Regions from separate parts of the Homo sapiens genome. Here all the other regions are linked to region 1. Evidence: promoter capture Hi-C in human tissues and cell types (Jung and others, 2019). All regions are on one chromosome and are shown on one strand. Each heading gives the region's core, a stretch centred on a gene start or on the middle of the fragment in contact. The rest is flanking DNA. Distances are from core to core; before and after follow the strand shown.

Region 1 (2,654 bases), core at 72-2,571:
AGGGAATCCAGCTAGGAGGCTACCGCAATAATCCAGGTGGCTTTATTGCTATCACTACCGGGGTGGTAGTGGTGGTGGTAGTGCTGGGGTAACTAATGGTCAGATTCTGTATACAGTGTATAGCTTAGCTCCAACTAGAGGATCTGAATATAGGTATAAGTCAAAGGGAAGAATCAAGGATGACTGCAAGCATCTCTTCACTTGAGACCACATGGTACAGTTTTGACAACCATAAACCGAATAACCTTACATTCCAAAGTTGCATTGTGAATTACAGTTTTAAAATGTTGGCAAGACTAGAAAGTCTTCTAGCAGAAAACTGTAGAAAAGAGGAACACTGGGTGAGGAGGATAATACCTTGGAGCTCTCCTGTGGGCTCCGTCCTTCCTATACTGAAAGGAACCATGGATCCAGTCCCTTAAATGGACTTGGTTAGGTGGGAACAGGCAGGAGAAGCAAAGCAAACACACAGTCCTGATAAAGTGTTTCAGGAAGATTTGCGGACACACCGACCTACCTGAGGCATTACTCTGCAATTTCCAACAGCCAACAGAGTCCTCTTTCCAGGCTCTTATCTTAGAGATGGGCAGTGTCCTGAGGGCACAGAAGGGCAGGAAAAAGCAGTCATGAAAAATCAGGCTTATCTTGCGGCACCTGTGACACACCATAATGGAAAGGCACACTGGTAATCACTCTCCAGGGCGCCAATCTCTCCCTGGGAACTAACAGGGTGTTTCTCCGCAAGGGCTAACCATTTACCAGGTGCCACCTGCGAGGAAAATCAATTACTCTGTAAATAAAATCCTCATAAAACAATGGTAAAAACTTTATCAGCTCGTTCAGTCTTCACCACTATGCACGGTGTGCGTTCACATTTTTCCAGATCTATTTTTTAAACGATGACAAAACTGAAATTCCAAGATACTGAACCCATTTGTTCAAGGTTACACAACTGTAGAGCGCCGGCTTCATGACGACATAACCCAAAGACAACTGTGGCTGGCGTCTAACCACGCGCCCACTTCACTCTCACAACAGCGCCAAGAGGTCGGCGCCGTCATCACCCCGCGTTTACATAGGAGGACATGAAGGCCAGGAAAACCAAGGCACCGGCCGGGGTCACACCGCGGGGCAGACCCAGGGCCTGAGCCCCGCCGCCGCCCCCGGGACTCATACTGGCCGGAGTCCTCAGCAGGGCCTCACCGTCCCCGCAGGCGCCCCGCGTCGCTGGTGAGCGGGCAACGGCCGCCGACCTCTGGGGACGACACTGCCCAGAATCGTCCCGGAGCCTGGGAGTCGCCGTCAGGCCTGAGGCTACAGCGGGGCGGACCCAGTGCGCCGCCCACAGCCGATCGACATTTCCCAGAATCATCCGCGCAGGGGACAAAATTCCAGGCGCAACGAACCGCAGGTACCGGAAGACCACACTTCCCAGGAGTCTCTGCGGCCGCGCGGACCTGGGGCGCCGCGGGCAAACAGATCTCGGTTTCCTAAAAAACTAAACCGCCTGGGGCTGTCGTCCCAGAGCCCGGCAGTTAGGACCATGCGGGAAGTGTCCTGGGGCATATAGTCATACTGATGAGGTGAAAGATACACCTCGGAACCAAGGGCCACCCTCTACTTTTAAGGACAATGGCGCCGGGACCAAGAAACTACACTTCCCAGAAAACCGTGCGGCCGTGGCAAACTCTTCTGGGTCTAGCGTGCGCTCACACTAATGTTTATCTCCCGGGACGTGGGCAGACCTTGTACCAGGCGAGCTCTCGCCTTTGCTAGCAAAAGAGCTCCTCTCTTCCCAAACCCTGCTACTACGCTGTCCACCCTGTATGGTCTTTGAGGTCTTTGAGGTTTTTTTGGAATTCACTTGCTGGAGACTACAGCTCACAGAACGCCCTGGGCTGGATTGTGCCAGCTGTAGTTCGCGAACCAAGGACATTTCCTGGAAATGCATGCGGCCACGTATCTGTGACAGAAATGGCAGTTCTCACGTGCGTTACGCCCCCTGGAAGGACTTGGAAATACGGAACTTGAGTGAGCACTGAGAGGACACAGACCCTCATCCTGGGAGGAGTCACTCCTCCCGCAGCCATCAGAGCCTGACAACCGCTTCTCACCAGAGGCGCTTCTTAGACCCTGACCTTGCCCGGCTCACCCAAAGGGGCAATGGCCTTCTTTGTATGCAAGCCAGACAGTCTACTGTTGTATATTTGAATTTTTTACTTTATTTTTAATATTTTAATTAAATTTTAATTTAATGCTGCCTCTACCTCTGAGAGAGACAGGGAGAGATGGGGGAGGCCTGGAGTGGGGGCCCTGCGGGGCAGGGACAGGGGACCCTTCCTCACTTTGCACAATCTGGGAACCCTCCCCAAGCGGAACAGCCAGCTGCAGTGGAAAAGCACTGGCTTAGTGGGCTTCGTCCTGGGGACGAAGGCTGGGAGACTGCAGCTGAAAGGTGTGGGCTCCAGGAGGGCCGCAGGGGGCCTAGCAGCAGCGTCAGGGAGCAGAAGTCCGCCCTCCCTCCATCTTCCTTCCTTCTCTGGCCGCCAGAGCGCTCTGTCTCCCTCCCACGCCCACAGCTACAGGTGGAGCCGGCTTGGGGCGGGGGGGGGGTCCTCCTAGGGCGAAGAGGGCCAGGAGCCTTCCTGAGGACC
Region 2 (2,654 bases), core at 83-2,582, 210 kb after region 1:
TCGTATAAAACAGCTACCAAAAAAAAAGCTTCAGAATAACTATAACAAAGGAGGTGGAAGACCTCCACCAAAAAAACTATAAAATACTGAGGAAACCAATTGAAGAGGACACTAAAACATGAAAAGATATTCCATGCTCATAATTGGAAGGATCACTATTGTGAAAATGACCATGTTGCCAAAAATGATCTGCAGATTCAATGCAATCCCTATCAAAATATCAATGATATTGTCACAGAAATATAAAAAATAATCCTGAAATTTATATGAAACCACAAACGACTCTGAGCATCCAAAGCAATCCTGAGCAAAAAGAACAAAGCTGGAGGCATAGCATGACTTGACTTAAAAATAGGCTACAAAGTTAGAGTAAACAAAACAGCATAGTACTGGCATAAAAACAGACACACAGACCAGTGAAACTAAATAGACAACTCAGAAGTACGTCCAAGCATTTACAACCAACTGATTTTCAACAAAGGCAGCAAGAACATTTATTGGTTCTTTACATTTCCTGGAAGAGCTTTGTACTTTTCCCTATTCACTATGATGTTGGCTGTGGGTTTGCCATACACTGATTTATTGTACTGGGCTACATTCCTTCTATACCCAGCTTCTTAAGAGTTTTTACTATAAAGGGCTGTTGAATTTTATCACGCTTTTTCTGCACCTACTGAGATAATCATATGGTTCTTGTACTCATTCTGTTGATGTGATGTGTTACATGTATTGATTTGAAACAAGGCAAGAACGTCCATTATCACCACTTTTATTTATTTATTTATTTATTTTTGAGATGGAGTCTCGCTCTGTCACCCAGGCTGGAGTGCAGTGGCACGATCTCGGCGCACTGCAACCTCCGCCTCCCGGGTTCAAGCGATTCTCCTGCCTCAGCCTCCAGAGTAGCTGGGATTACAGGCATGTGCCACCACACCCAGCTAATTTTTTGTATTTTTAGTAGAGACGGGGTTTCACCATGTTAGCCAGGATGATCTCAATCACCTAACATCGTGATCTGCCTGCCTTGGCCTCCCAAAGTGCTGGGATTACAGGCATGAGCCACCGTGCCTGGCCTGTCACCACTTTTATTTGACATAGTACTGGAAGTCCTAGCTAGAGCAATTAGGCAAGAGAAAAAAAAACTTGAATGAATGATGCCTGGAACATTAAATATCTGTATGCCGAAAAATGAAACTAGACCCCTATATCTCACCATATTAATAAAATCAACTCAAAATAGCTTACAGACTTAAATTAAGAGCTGAAACTATGGAACTACTCGAAGAAAGCAGGGGAAATGCTTCAAGACATTGATCTGGGCAAAGATTTTGTGGTGAAGAACTTGAAAGCACAGGAAACAAAAGCAAAAATAGGCTAATTGGATTACATTAAACTAAAAAGCTCCTGCACAGCAAAGAAAACAATCAACAGAGACAAGAGACAACTTGCAGAATGGGAAGAAAACTGCAAACTATTCATTCAACAAGGGATTAATATCCACAATATATGAGAAACTTGAACAATTCAATGTCAAAAAAAATACAAATAATCTGATGTAAAAATGGACAACTTGGCCAGGTGCAGTGGCTCATGCCTGTAATCCCAGCACTTTGGGAGGCTCAGGTGGATGGATCACCTGAGGTCAGGAGTTCAAGACCAGCCTGGCCAACATGGTGAAACCATGCCTCTACTAAAAATATAAAATTAGCTGGGCGTGGTGGCCCGTGCCTGTAATCCCAGCTACTCGGGAGGCTGAGGCAGGAGAATCACTTGAACCTGGGAGGCAGAGGTTGCAGTGAGCCAAGATTGCACCATTGCACTCCAGCCTGGGCAACAAGAGTGAAACTCTATCTCAAAAAAAAAAAAGAAAAAGAAATGGACAAATTAGCTGAATAAACATCTCTCAAAAGATGACATACATATGGCCAACTAATATTTTTAAAATGCTCAACATCACTTATCATACAGGATATGCACATCAAAATCACATTCAGATATCATCTCATCCCAGTTAAAATGGCTACTATGACAAAGACAAAAGATACCAAATGCTAGTGAGAAAGCAAAGAAAAGAGAACTCTTGTATGCTGTTTGTGGGAACGTAAATTATTACAGCCATGAGGAAAAACACTATGGGGGGTTCCTCAAAAAACTAAAAATAGATTTACCATATATGGTCAAGCAATCCCATTACTGGGTACACATCCAGACAAAAGGAAGTCAGTATATCAAAGAGGTATCTGCACTCTCATGTTTATTGCAACACTGTTCACAATGGACAAAACATGGAATCAACCTAAGTGTCCATGAACATGTGAACAAATGAAGAACATATGGTATAAATACACAATGGAATATGATCTAGCTATGAAAAAGAATAAAATGCTGTCATTTGCAGCAACATAAATGAGCTTGGAGTCATTGTGTTAAGCAAAAGAAGCCAAGACACAGAAAGATAAATACTGTATGTTCTCACTCACATGTGGAAGGTTAAAAAGTTGCTCTCATAGAAGGAGAGTGTAGACTAAGGGTTACTTGAGGCAAGAAAGAGTTGGGGGAGGTGGGAATATAGCCAAAGATTGATGGATGGATACAAAAGTGCAGCTAGATAGGAGGAATAAGTTCTAGTGTTCTATAGGATTGTAGGGTGACTG
Region 3 (2,654 bases), core at 60-2,559, 180 kb after region 1:
CATCCATAATCCTAATTTAGCTCAATGGTATTATGTCATGTCATAGGGATTAAGGCTTTATATCCCGGGATTTGATGTTGGAACTATGTTCACCATCCAAAAAAAATCCTCGTCTCATGGAGCCCTCCTAAGCCAATCAGGCCTTTAACTGATTTAGATGACCTTATGTTCCCAAAACATCCAGACAAGGTTGATTTAACTGTCCCACTGCCATTCCTGGTCCCCAAACCTCACCTGCAATGACAGCACCTCCAACCCAGCCTGATGTCCATTCTAGGTGGGGTACATCACCTCCTCAATCTCACCCAGCCTAAACTAGCCCAAGATTGTTGGTTGTGCCTAAAGGACAAACCCCCATATTATATTGGATTAGGAGTAGAAGCCGCACTTAAAATTGGCTCTCTTTCTTGTTGTACATGCCCCCATGCCCTCCCATTAGGAGATACGTCTGGAAACACTTCTTGTCTAATTAGCACCGGATATAACTTATCTGCTTCTCCCTTTCAGGCTACCTGTAATCAGTCTATGCTTACCTCCTTAAGCACCTCAGTCTCCTACCAGGCACCTAACAATACCTGGTTAGCCTGCACTTCAGGTCTCACTTGCCACATCAATGGAACTAAACCAGGACCTCTCCTGTGTGTGTTGGTTCATGTACTCCCCCAGGTCTACGTGTATAGTGGGCCAGAAGGATAACTTCTTATTGCTCCCCCTGAATTACATCCCAGGTTTTGCCGAGCCACCCCACTCCTTGTACCCCTCCTGGCTGGCCTTAGCATAGCTGGATCAGCAGCCATCAGCATGGCTGCCCTGGTTCAGGGAGAAACTGGACTAATGTCCCTGTCTCAACAAGTAGATGCTGATTTAAGCAATCTCCAATCAGCCATAAATATACTACATACCCAAGTAAAATCTCTAGCTGAAGTAGTTCTTCAAAACCGCCGAGGCTTAGATCTGCTATTTCTCTCCCAAGGAGGGTTATGTGCCACTCTAGGAGAGAGTTGTTGCTTCTGTGCCAATCAGTCTGGAGTCATAAAAGATACTCTCCAAAAAGTTTGAGAAAACCTAGACAGGCACCAGCAAGAACGAGAAAATAACACCCCCTGGTACCAAAGCATGTTTAACTGGAATCCATTGCTAACTACTCTAATCACTGGGTTAGCTGGACCCTTTCTCCCCTATTGTTAGGCTTAGTCTTTGAGCCTTGTATGTTAAATTGGTTTCTTAATTTTGTAAAACAACATATAGCTTCTGTCAAGCTTATGTACCTTAAAACCCAATATAACCCCCTGGTTATAACCGAGGAATCAATGGTTTGATTCCCCAAAAACACAAGTGGGGAATGTGATACCCAACCTTGTTTTAACCTGAATTGACTCTCCCTTAGCTGAGAGAGCCAGACAGACTCCATCTTGGCTCCTTCACTTACAGCCCCTTACCCACTCCCTTCCTCAAGGACTTGACTTGACTTGTGCAAGCAGATTCCCAACACATCCAAGGATGCAATTAACTGATAAGATACTGTGGAAAGCTATATCCGCAGTTCCTAGGAATTCATCTGGTTGATAACACCCAAAGCCCCGCATCTGTCACCCTGTGATAGATTTAAAGCCCCTGCACCTGGAACTGTTTGCTTTCCTGTAACCATTTATCCTTATAACTTTTTGCCTGCTTTACTTCTGTAAGATTGTTTTAACTAGACTCCCCCCCTCTCCTTTCTAAACCAAAGTAAAAAAGAAAATCTAGCCCCTTCTTTGGGGCCTAGAGAATTTTGAGCACTAGCCATCTCTCAGTCGCTGGCTAATAAAGGACACCTGAATTCGTCTCAGAGTGTGGTGTTTCTCTGTAACTCACTAGGTTACAACACGTGAGCCCTACAATTATTCCTGCTTACAGTGTAGAAGAAAAATAAGTATATATGGTGACCACCATGGGTATAATTTAGGTGGGATAATAGGAGAGAGGAGAGAGGCAAAGATTTGCAGAAGTATCCATGTAAATCTTTGGCTAAGTCCCGATCTGCACAAGCATGACCAGACACTACCTGAGGTTTAGAAAGGAACCCCTACAAAGCAATATCCCAAACAATTATTTGAGCTCATCCAGGGCTGGGAATTGTATGTTCACCTGCCAGTGTGGAACACCTATTAGTACAGAAAACACCAGATAGAAAGGTATCACCTAAAGAACGGGGCTGACAGACTCAAGGCTGCTCTGGTCTTATACTAAAAAAGTTTAAAACAGAAAGACCTAGTGCCAAGCAGGCAAGAGGAAATCATGCTGCTAAGTAATTTTATTGAATGGCATACCAAGGTCCAACATTGTTTAAAGCAATACAAACAAATACAACATTCAATAATGTAAAATTCAGTATCTGGCATCCAATAAAGAATAACCATGCACACAAAGAAGTAGTGACATAAAAATCATTAACCAGAAGAGTGAATTGAGAAGCACAAAAATGATGAAAATGATGAAATTAGTGGACAAATATGCTGTAAAGCTTTTATAACTATCCAACATTTGTTTTGACAAAAGAATGGGGGAAATAAAACTTGATAATGAGAAATAGTACATATATATATATTTGTGGTTTCCACTCCAACATCTAAAGAGCTTGTTACTCCCGTCCTCAAAACAACAAAAAGTTGAAC
Region 4 (2,654 bases), core at 82-2,581, 170 kb before region 1:
AACCAGAGGTATGGCACTATCCTCTCTGATAGCAAATCAAGAGCACAGTGCTGGCATCTGGTGAAGACCTTCTTGCTATGTCGTTACATGGTGGAGCACATCACATGGCAAGAGCAAGAGCCTGTCAGCTCAGGTGTCTCTTCCTTTTACCAGTCCCATCATAGGGGTCCACCCTGATGACTTTATCTAATCCTCATTACCTCCCAAAGGCCCCCACCTTCAAACATATTTACATATGAATTTGGGGATTGAGTTTTTAATACACGAAATTTGGTTGACACATTCAAACCATAGCAGATGCCAAAGGTGGACATGGGGGAGTCAAATTCCCAAAAGCTGCCTGAGTGGTGCTGTCATTGGGTTCCAGGGCTGCAGTAGAGGTTAAGTAGGAAGGATTTCTGGGGGCTGCCAGGTTCTTCAAAGGGAAACAGCTGTTAACATTGCAGGGAGAGACAGGAAGATAACAGATGGGGAAATGGGCATGGTATCCATGTTGATTTCATCAGAGTAAAAGGCAGGCTTGGATGCCAAGTCTGAAGAGGGTCTGCTTACTATAGTGGAGGTGACTGCAGAAGCAGTGGTAGGTGGGCCAGAAAAGACAGGGCATTGAAGAGAGTGGTTTCCTGTTGATGCCTGTCTGGAACCCTAGATTTCAGGTGATAGGTGTTTCTTGGGTCAAAAGGCAATGTTGGAAATTCAGGTAGGGCTGTTGACCATAAAAGCAGGTGGGCTGGTGGAGACTGTGTTCTTTACAAGGGATATCTGCTCCATACTGGGATGGAACTGGTCAAATGGGAGGATACTCATCCTGGATCCTATGGGAGACCAGGAGATGAAAACCTGTGAAAAGGGATTGGTATCCATGCAGTTTATACCAAAGTACAAAGTAGGCTTGAGGTTGAGTCTGCAGATTACTGGCTGTGATAGTGAAAATGCTTGAGGCACCAGTGATGGGCCGGTCTATGAAGATGGGCATACAGGTGGAAGAGTCTGTAAGAAAAAGGGAGAAAAATCCACAATGACTCAATTCTGATTAGATGACTAGATAGATTCTGATTAGATTACTAAACTGATAGATGACTCAATTCTGCAGGAGGTAGACTTGAAGCAAAGGCCAAGGGGTTAGGAGATGTGGTGAGGTCAAAAGTAGAGATCTAGGCCAGGCGTGGTGGCTCACACCTGTAATCTCAGCACTTTGGGAGGCCGAGGCAGGCAGATAACGAGGTCAGGAGATAGAGACCATCCTGGCCAACATGGTGAAGCCTCGTCTCTACTAAAAATACAAAAATTAGCTGGGCATGGTGGCACATGCCTGTAGTCCCAGCTGCTCTGGAGGCTGAGGCAGGAGAATCACTTGAACCCGGGAGGTGGAGGTTGCAGTGAGCCAAGTTCGCACCACTGCACTCCAGCCTGGTGACAGTGCGAGACTCCGTCTCAAAAAAAAAAAAAAAAAAAAAAGTAGAGATCTGGGCTGGGTATGGTGGCTTACATCTGTAATCCCAGCACTTTTGAGAGGCTGATGCAGAAGGATCACTCAAAAGCAGGAGTTCCAGACCAGCCTGGGCAACATAGCAAGACTCCATCTCTAGAAGAAAAAAATGCCTGTAGTCCTAGCTGCTCTGGAGGCCGAGGTGGGAGGATTGCTTGAGCCCAGGAGTTTTAGGCGGCAGTGAGCCATGATTGCACCACTACGTTACAACCTGGGTGACAGAGCAGGACCCTGCCCCACCACCCCCCAAAAAAATCTGCAGATGAGGGACTGAAATGGAAATGGCTTTTATTCCCATAAAGGGGAACTCCCAAAATGATATTGAACCTAAGGGGAGAAACAACAAGAATAGGAAAAAAAAAAAAAGGAGAGTTAGGATATGGGCATTTCATTTAATGATCTGTATATGGGGTGAGGACTGGTACAGGGGCAGAAGGGACTGGGGGCCTGGAAGACAGGACAGCCAAGTCAGTGGCTGGTAACATGGTAGTATCAGCAAACTACAAGGTGAAAATGGCCAAGGGTGGGGTGCCTGCCATCTCTGCAACAAGCAGGAAGAAAGAAGGGGCAGGCTGAGGGGCACTGCACTGCTATCTGAAGGGGCCTTGGCTTTATCTTCTAAGAACATGTGGTTAGACTGGGGCTCTGCTTTCTTCTTCAAGCCTACATCTTCTCCAACGACTATACAAAAAAGCTTAGGAGAGTTTGGGCAGCTCACCTTGACCTCAAAAAATAGCAGCGGCAGTGGCAGCAGCGGGCGAGTTGGAACTTTGTTTACAGAGTCTACAACTGGCAGACGTGGGTTGAGAGTTCCTGTTTGAAACCCTTCCTCCCTGCATCTTCTCTGTCTTCAGAGAGAACTGGACCTCCAGAGAGGCAGGAATCCCCTAGCAGCACTGCCTGAGCTGGTGATGGCATGGCCTTTGATGAATGAGCTCATACAATATCTCTTCACTTTCTCATCTAAGGCGTCTTCTGGGGGTTGGAGTGGAGGTTTCCCTTCAATGGCCCGGGTAGGATTTCGTTGTCTTGGGGGTAGATCTGAAGACTCACTCCCACTGCGATGGGTGGGGGTAAGGGAGCTTCTCTGATCGCGCTGGGGTCGCTATTTATACTCATCCTCCACCTTCGCTATCCCTGGCTGCTGTCTCCTAGGGTCCTCATC

The links. Contacts are between HindIII fragments. The study calls those that stand out against the background at their distance.
Region 2: a fragment that was not itself captured here is called in contact with the fragment with the promoter of ZNF181 in region 1 in 1 of the 25 tissues and cell types used here (mesendoderm cells).
Region 3: a contact is called between a fragment that was not itself captured here and the fragment with the promoter of ZNF181 in region 1, in 2 of the 25 tissues and cell types used here (mesendoderm cells and thymus).
Region 4: a contact is called between a fragment that was not itself captured here and the fragment with the promoter of ZNF181 in region 1, in 2 of the 25 tissues and cell types used here (liver and mesenchymal stem cells).

Annotation. Positions count from the first base shown.
Region 1 is chr19:34,732,910-34,735,563 of GRCh38, reverse strand. ZNF181 (zinc finger protein 181) reads right to left here and starts at 1,321. Exons shown (of 4, transcript NM_001029997.4): 1 at 518-1,321. The coding sequence starts at 526. RefSeq lists silencers at 1,079-1,138, 1,239-1,288 and enhancers at 1,569-1,958, 1,679-2,196, 2,414-2,473. The HindIII fragment of the contact is 5,149 bases long and covers 1-2,654 here.
Region 2 is chr19:34,526,935-34,529,588 of GRCh38, reverse strand. No RefSeq gene overlaps it. Among named protein-coding and RNA genes, the nearest start is that of WTIP, 47 kb to the right of the region's middle. The HindIII fragment of the contact is 3,863 bases long and covers 1-2,654 here.
Region 3 is chr19:34,551,928-34,554,581 of GRCh38, reverse strand. It overlaps the pseudogene ZNF807P. Among named protein-coding and RNA genes, the nearest start is that of WTIP, 71 kb to the right of the region's middle. The HindIII fragment of the contact is 5,625 bases long and covers 1-2,654 here.
Region 4 is chr19:34,905,778-34,908,431 of GRCh38, reverse strand. LINC01838 (long intergenic non-protein coding RNA 1838) reads right to left here. Exons shown (of 2, transcript NR_146451.1): 1 at 2,208-2,654; 2 at 241-990. Among named protein-coding and RNA genes, the nearest start is that of LINC01838, 1.8 kb to the right of the region's middle. RefSeq lists an enhancer at 2,565-2,654. The HindIII fragment of the contact is 3,568 bases long and covers 1-2,654 here.